Regions from separate parts of the Homo sapiens genome. Here region 2 is linked to region 1. Evidence: promoter capture Hi-C in human tissues and cell types (Jung and others, 2019). All regions are on one chromosome and are shown on one strand. The core of a region is centred on a gene start or on the middle of the fragment in contact, and the rest is flanking DNA. Distances in the headings are between cores, read along the strand shown. Region 1 holds the start of PLCD4 (phospholipase C delta 4). Region 2 overlaps USP37 (ubiquitin specific peptidase 37).

Region 1 (3,252 bases), core at 281-2,780:
TGGGAAGTAGCCCAGAGCTGCAGAGCGCAATTTGGTCCTCAATTTCTAAGAGACTTCATGTCACCTAGAGATGGACTTTGGCAGAGTTACCAATGGCACCAAGGAGATTACAGTGGGATTCAGGGTGTCTCAGGTCTCTCTGAGGGGCAAGAAAGAAGAGAATCATTTTGTCTACTCCCTTGCTTCTGAGAAGGATTATGCCTAACCTGGTTCATATAGAGGACAAATTGGCTCTGGTCACAGGTCACAGAATGTTGGAGCTTGAAGGTTCTTTTTTTTTTTTTTTTTGAGACAGAGTCTCGCTGTCGCCCAGGCTGGAGTGCAGTGGTGCGATCTTGGCTCACTGCAGGCTCCGCCCCCCGGGGTTCACGCTATTCTCCTGCCTCAGCCTCCCGAGTAGCTGGGACTACAGGCACCCGCCACCCACCTCGCCCGGCTAATTTTTTGTATTTTCAGTAGAGACGGGGTTTCACCATGTTAGCCAGGATGGTCTCAATCTCCTGACCTCGTGATCCACCCGCCTCGGCCTCCCAAAGTGCTGGGATTACAGGTGTGAGCCACCGCGCCCGGCCAGTTCTTTTATAACACATCTAATCCAGACATTCCCAGCTACATCAATAGCCTCTGGAATGTCTTGAAATTGAGATCCTTAGCCCTACCCAAAAATCTACCAGATCAGAGTTACCCAGGGTGGGGCTCAATAATATATTTATTTTTAACAAGTACACTTGGTACACAGGCAAGTCTGGGAAACCCTAAACTCTCTCGTATCACAGATCTGGAAGTTGTGGCTCCAGGTCCCGTAGCTAGTTAATGGCACAGGCAGAACTAGAAGTAGGTTTTCTTACCAACGTAGCACTCTGGTGCACTAAGAAACTGCTCTGGCCCATGGAATAGGCAAAGAACAAGTTCTTTAGAGAACTTTCTAAGGGACTTTCATAACTCTCTCTATTACCAGGGATCTCTGATTCCCCATGGTTCTTGGCCAACCCCTATTTTGCAACCCTCAACAAACTGTTAATGAATCTATGCTAAAGCTTAGCTACTCCAATTTTTTCTTCCCTTATTGGGGGTGGAGTTCACCTCAGGAGTGGCTAGGGTTGGCACTTCTGGCCCTGCATAAGCTAAGAGGTACCTCATATAAAGGGCGACTGACACAGCCAGGAGGAAAGCTGTAAGGATAAAGGAGGATAAGCTAGAGAGAACCAGGAGGTGGGAGCCCTGTAGAGCTGTTGGGATGAGGAAAGGAGTCTAGGGTACAATTTAATCAGGGTGGATAAGCATCTAGAGGGCAGAGGTAGGGACTCAGGGAAGACAGAGCTTAGAGCAGAGGGTAGTCAGAGCTTCCAGATCCTTACCGTGGGCAGGAGAGCAGAATAGCAGTCCTGTGTTTCCTGTGTCTGTGAGCTGTGCCTCCCGAGCTCTGCGATGCTGTGGGATCAGGAAGCCCAGCCTGGCTCCTTTTCTCTTTTGCTCCCCTTGCACTGGCTTGTTTCCTCCCCTCTTCTACAGCAGCTGGCTGCTGTGACTGGCAAGTTATAGCCGGAGGGAAGCAGTAAGAAGGGGAGAGGTGTGAGCTCTCTCCAGTCCAGCCCATCCAACTCTTAAAGGCCCAGGACACTGGTCAATGTGAGGGAGTAGTGGGGGTGGGGTGGGGAGAGAAGGATTAAGGGCAGCACATCTCCAGGGAGGAGCCTGGCTGCCCTTCATCTTGATGCCAGCCCTCATTGACCCCAATCCCGCAGTAGCTCTCAAAGTGAAGGGAGTGTCCTCAGTTGCAGTGCTCTGTGAATCACTGCTTTTCATTCTGGTTCCTGCATGTAATACGGCTGTTTTTGCCCTTATTTAATCTGGCTCCTTTCCATAGTGTCTGTTTCCACTGGCCTGCTCCTGTATCTCTGAATCCTGCCTGCAGGGCACTCACTGTAGCTCCGTCCCACAGGAAAAGAAAGAAATAAGATGGGAAAAGAGGAAGACGAGGAGAAGGGGAGGACAGGAATGATGATAGAATGTAGAGGGACAGATAGGTTAGAATCTATGTATATTTTAGGCACTCATTAAATATTGAAAGAATGCATAGATGAACGTGTGAAACAGCTCATTTTTTTTTAAACATCCATTCGTTCCTCCTACAAGCATCTGTTCAGCACCTCTGGGTTATAAGTCATAGCCCTCAGAATGGAGGTAGCACCTTCAGGACATACATGCATGTTTATAAAGATGTGTGCAGAGATGAAGCATAGGCTCAGAGGGGAACTGTGTGAAATGGTGTAATTTTAAGTGTGCTGACGTCTGGCTGCCTATCATGGTTTCCACAAGCATCCCTCAACTGCCTAATATTTTACCATTAGTGATTATAGCTACATTTTTTAGTCCCATTAAAATAAAATCCTCCTAAGTGATTACTATAAAAGTCAGGATAGTGGTTACTGTTGGGAGGGGGAGGAATTGTGGTGAGATGGGACACAGAGGGGGCTTCTGGCATAGCTAGCTAAACTCTATTTCTAGTTCTAAGTGCTAACAAGGGTCTTCACTTAATAATTTATTAAGCTATACATTCTCTTGATATATTTTCTATATGTGTTTTTAAATTTATTTTTTTAGGTCTCATTTAAAATATCATATATCTGTGTTAACTTTTGAAGGCTTAATGATTTTAAATATACATATATGTATATGTATATGTGTGTGTGTGTATATATATATATATATATATTTTTTTTTTTTTTTTTTTTTTTTTTTGAGATAAGAGTCTCGCTGTTGCCCAGGCTGGAGTGCAATGGCGTGATCTTGGCTTACTGCAACCTCTACCTCCCGGGTTCAAGCAATTCTCCTGTCTCAGCCTCCTGAGTAGCTGGGATTACAGGTGCATGCCACCACCCCCAGCTACTTTTTTTTGTATTTTAGTAGAGACGGGGTTTCACCGTGTTGCCCAGGCTGGTCTTGAGCTCCTGAGCTCAGGCAATCCACCTGCCTTGGCCTCCCAAAGTGCTAGGATTACAGGCGTAAGCCACTGCACCCAGCCGATTATAAATAATTTTTTAAAAATTCAATCCTAAGGTCAAAGTAGATTTTAAATAATTTATACCTAGGTTGGGTTGTCTATATTCTTTACTGAGAGCAGGTTTTGATAGAAGAGTAGTAGTATGAAGGAAGGGGACACATTAGGAGGGAGGCCATTCATGGGGAACAGGAAGATTGGGGGGCATCGTAGTTTAAACTGTGCTGATTTCAGATTTGACTTAATAGAGG
Region 2 (3,604 bases), core at 482-2,981, 46 kb after region 1:
ACATTATTATGTAACAATGTTTATAAAGTGAACAAAGGACATATTCTTTCTCACTGACTTCTTAGTTTCAAAATGTAGCAAGAATGAATAAACCAAGGTACAAGTTGAACAAGGTGCAGGCTCATCCTGTAATCCCTCATTATGCACAGCAGATAAGTTCCTAAAGTTCTGTTGATCTTTTATGTGTGTCTCTGTGTGTTGTGCATCATATTTTAAATATTTTCATTAAGGTAATCTGTAGTTTTTAAATAACCAAGAAGTTAATCTTTGTTGTATAAACGATCACTTTCCTTTTTTTTTTTTTTTGAGATGGAGTTTTGCTCTTGTTGCCCAGGTTGGAGTGCAATGGCGTGATCTCTGCTCACTGCAACCTCCACCTCCTGGGTTCAAGCAATTCTCCTGCCTCAGCCTCCCGAGTAGCTGGGATTACAGACATGCACTGCCACGCCCAGCTAATTTTGTATTTTTAGTAGAGACGGGGTTTCTCCATGTTGGTCAGGCTGGTCTCGAACTCCTGACCTCAGGTTATCTGCCCGCCTCCACCTCTCAAAGTGCTGGGATTACTCGCGTCAGCCACCGTGCCCAGCCCACTTTCTTTTAAGTATTAATTTTGTATATTGGGTTCTTTTTAAAAAGCACATTTTTATTTTCTTTAGCTGAGTTGATGGCTTCCGGAGAACTGGCATAGCTGCAGAATATGAGTAGTGTCCCAAGAAGAGTGCTTTGCCTTTGGCACAAGGATCAGAATAAAGGTGAATTGCTATTACATAGGGTTTTTCGGTAAAAGTCACTGAAAAGTAAGTAATGTTTTTGTTTTGGATATATGTTTCAAAGAGCATGCAATCTGGCGGGAACTGACAGTTTTGTGTTTGTTTTGTAGTAATAGTTTTTGTGTTTTGGCCATACTTTATTTACCACTGAATGCTCTCTGATTAAGGATGTTTTCAAAGCAGTACCTAAAATGTGAGCACTTAAATAAATGTACAGGGCATAGAAACATTTTTGCTAATATTGTTGCTTTGAGCATTCATGGTGATGCTCAAAGTTGAACAGTAATTTTAATAATTGTGAAGAAATTTAGAGAAAGAATCTCTGGACATATTTAAAGAATAATTCATTTTAATTATCTTTTGTCTTCTTATTTTTTTGCTTTAATAAGACAATTACCATTACCGAGTTTAAGGAAACCCTGTCTTTGTCTTAGGTTCATAGGAAGTTTAACTGTTACTGGATCATGCTTCATGCTGAAAAAGAAACTTAGTTTTTTACTCTTAACCAAGTAGAGCAAGCCCTGATAATATAATGAATGAGCAAATGTAGCTGTCAATTCATTTAGTGCAAAAGCAGGTAATGAACTAAATTGAGGCATTATGAAAAAGTTTATTATATTGGTTCTGCCAATTTTATGTCCTACATCTTTTATATAAAGCTTTTTAAAGAGGGTAATGTGTAAATTGAGTCTTGATTTTAGAGCCAGGAGAAGAAATTAAGGAGGGTTGGGGATGGGGAGAACACATAAAAATCCTCTAGACATGACCTCTGTGTATGCAAAGGTATAGTGGCATGAGAACATAGAGATTTTTGAGGAAATTATAAGTAATTCAGAAGGATTTGGGGGTTTTATTGGGAATAGACAGGTAAGCAGGGCCTGAGTCCTGAAGGGCCTCTACGTCACATTAGTGAGTTTAGATTTTATTGCGAGAACAAGTGGAGAGCTATTGAATGATATAAAGCAAGAGAGGGATATGATTTGATCTGCAGTTCATTATAAGGCTGTCTGAAAGGTGTATGGAGGTAGAATTTTTTTTTTTTTTTTTCTGAGACAGAGTCTGGCTCCAGGCTGGAGTGCAGTGGTATGATCTCGGCTCACTGCAGCCTCTGCCTCCCGGATTCCAGCGATTCTCTTGCCTCAGCCTCCCAAGTAGCTGGAATTACAGGCGCACGCCACCACACCTGGCTAATTTTTGTATTTTTGGTAGAGATGGGGTTTCACCATGTTGGCCAGGCTGGTCTCAAACTCCTGACCTCAGGTGATCTGCCCACCTCGGCCTCGCAAAGTGCTGGGATTACAGGCATCAGCCACAGCTCCCGATCTGTGGAGGCAGAATTGATGGGATTCTCCTGACTTTCCATCTCTAATCTAATACCAATAATTATCAAGAAGGAAGCCAAAGACAAGTCTTCTGTTTCTGGCATGGGAAACTGGAGTAGAAGAGTGATGTATTCTTTGTAGCACTGAGTGGCGGAGTGGAAAAAAGTCTCAAGGATGTATCCAACAATAAAGTCACAAATTATAATTGCAGAAAAAAGTATTACAGATATACATTGCTGGCTCAAGTTTCTGTAGCTCTGTAGCATTACTAGTTTGAGCCAAATGTCATGTTAACAGACAGTTCTATAAACATTAATGGACTCTATTACTTTGACGAATTCATATTACCCAGCACATTATACTAATATCTAAATCTGCCCATAGTAAGCACTTAAAAATTTTTGATGAGATGAGTGAATAATAATAGAGTACTTATGATACTTAACACCTTTAAACTCTCGAAAGTGTTTTCATATATCTTCTTTTATCTTCAGTTATTTGCCATACAGTAACCAGAGACCTCCAACTAGGGGCCCCCAAACTGTATCCTGCCTGTAGGTGAGTTTTGTTTGATTTGTAGCTGTTAAAAATAAATTTGAATTCATTGCCAACAATTAAAAATGGACAGTTTTACATAAACGTTTGGATGTCTTTATTTTCTTGAAAAGTTAGATGGTCTGGCAATGCTAGGTTCGCTATTTCTACATGGTAATAATTGGCTAGATTGGGTAGCAATTGTTCAAATTTTGCCTGCTTAAGTCATTTCTGTCACCTGCTAGCCCCTATAGATAGTTGAGTTAGTGACTCCTGTTAACATTGTATTTATTGAGGTCTTTGGAGAAAGAGGTATTATGGACATGGAATAAATTCAGAAAACAGACATTAATTCCATTAATATTAATTACTGCTGTCTGCTGAGTGCCTAGTATGTATTATTTCATTCTACAACACTAAAACATTTGCTATTCCTATTTTGTGGTTGAGAAAACTTATGGTTAAAGAAGGTAAGTTACAAATTAGTAAGTGATAGGGCTGGCTGGCTGCTGATTTCTAGACCTAGCATCATTTTCCTTTATATACTAGCCTTTCTGGCTTTTCTTGTTGAGCTGTTTAGGCAAAGGTAATGTTTAATTGTGTTTAATTTAGTAAATTATAAGCAAGAATCCACTTTAGAAGTAGTGTTTTTAAAGGTTTGAAATAGTATAAAATTTGAGTTCGCAATTTTAAATGATTGCATATTTATGTATGTAACACACTATTTGATAACATTCTTTGCTATAACTGTAATTTTATTTACTTGTTGACTTTTGCAAAAGCTAATTTGAAGAGTTTTACACATCCGATTATTGCTGTAAGTTTAAGTTTTTTGTGTTTTTTTTTTGTTTGTTTGTTTTGAGACAGGGTCTCACTCAGAGTGTCACCTAGGCTGGAATTGAGTGGTGCAATCATGGCTCACTGCAGCCTCGACCTCCCTGGCTCAGGTGATCCTCCCATCTCAGCCTCTGGAGTAGT

The links. The method cuts DNA at HindIII sites, captures the fragments that hold promoters and counts their contacts. A contact is called where the count stands out against the background at its distance.
Region 2: a contact is called between a fragment that was not itself captured here and the fragment with the promoter of PLCD4 in region 1, in 5 of the 25 tissues and cell types used here (aorta, bladder, heart left ventricle and 2 more).

The regions. Positions count from the first base shown.
Region 1 is chr2:218,606,177-218,609,428 of GRCh38, reverse strand. PLCD4 (phospholipase C delta 4) reads right to left here and starts at 1,530. Exons shown (of 16, transcript NM_032726.4): 1 at 1,359-1,530. The HindIII fragment of the contact is 15,744 bases long and covers 1-3,252 here.
Region 2 is chr2:218,559,866-218,563,469 of GRCh38, reverse strand. It overlaps USP37 (ubiquitin specific peptidase 37), which reads left to right. Exons shown (of 26, transcript NM_020935.3): 2 at 657-797; 3 at 2,587-2,650. Among named protein-coding and RNA genes, the nearest start is that of USP37, 6.7 kb to the left of the region's middle. The HindIII fragment of the contact is 9,239 bases long and covers 1-3,604 here.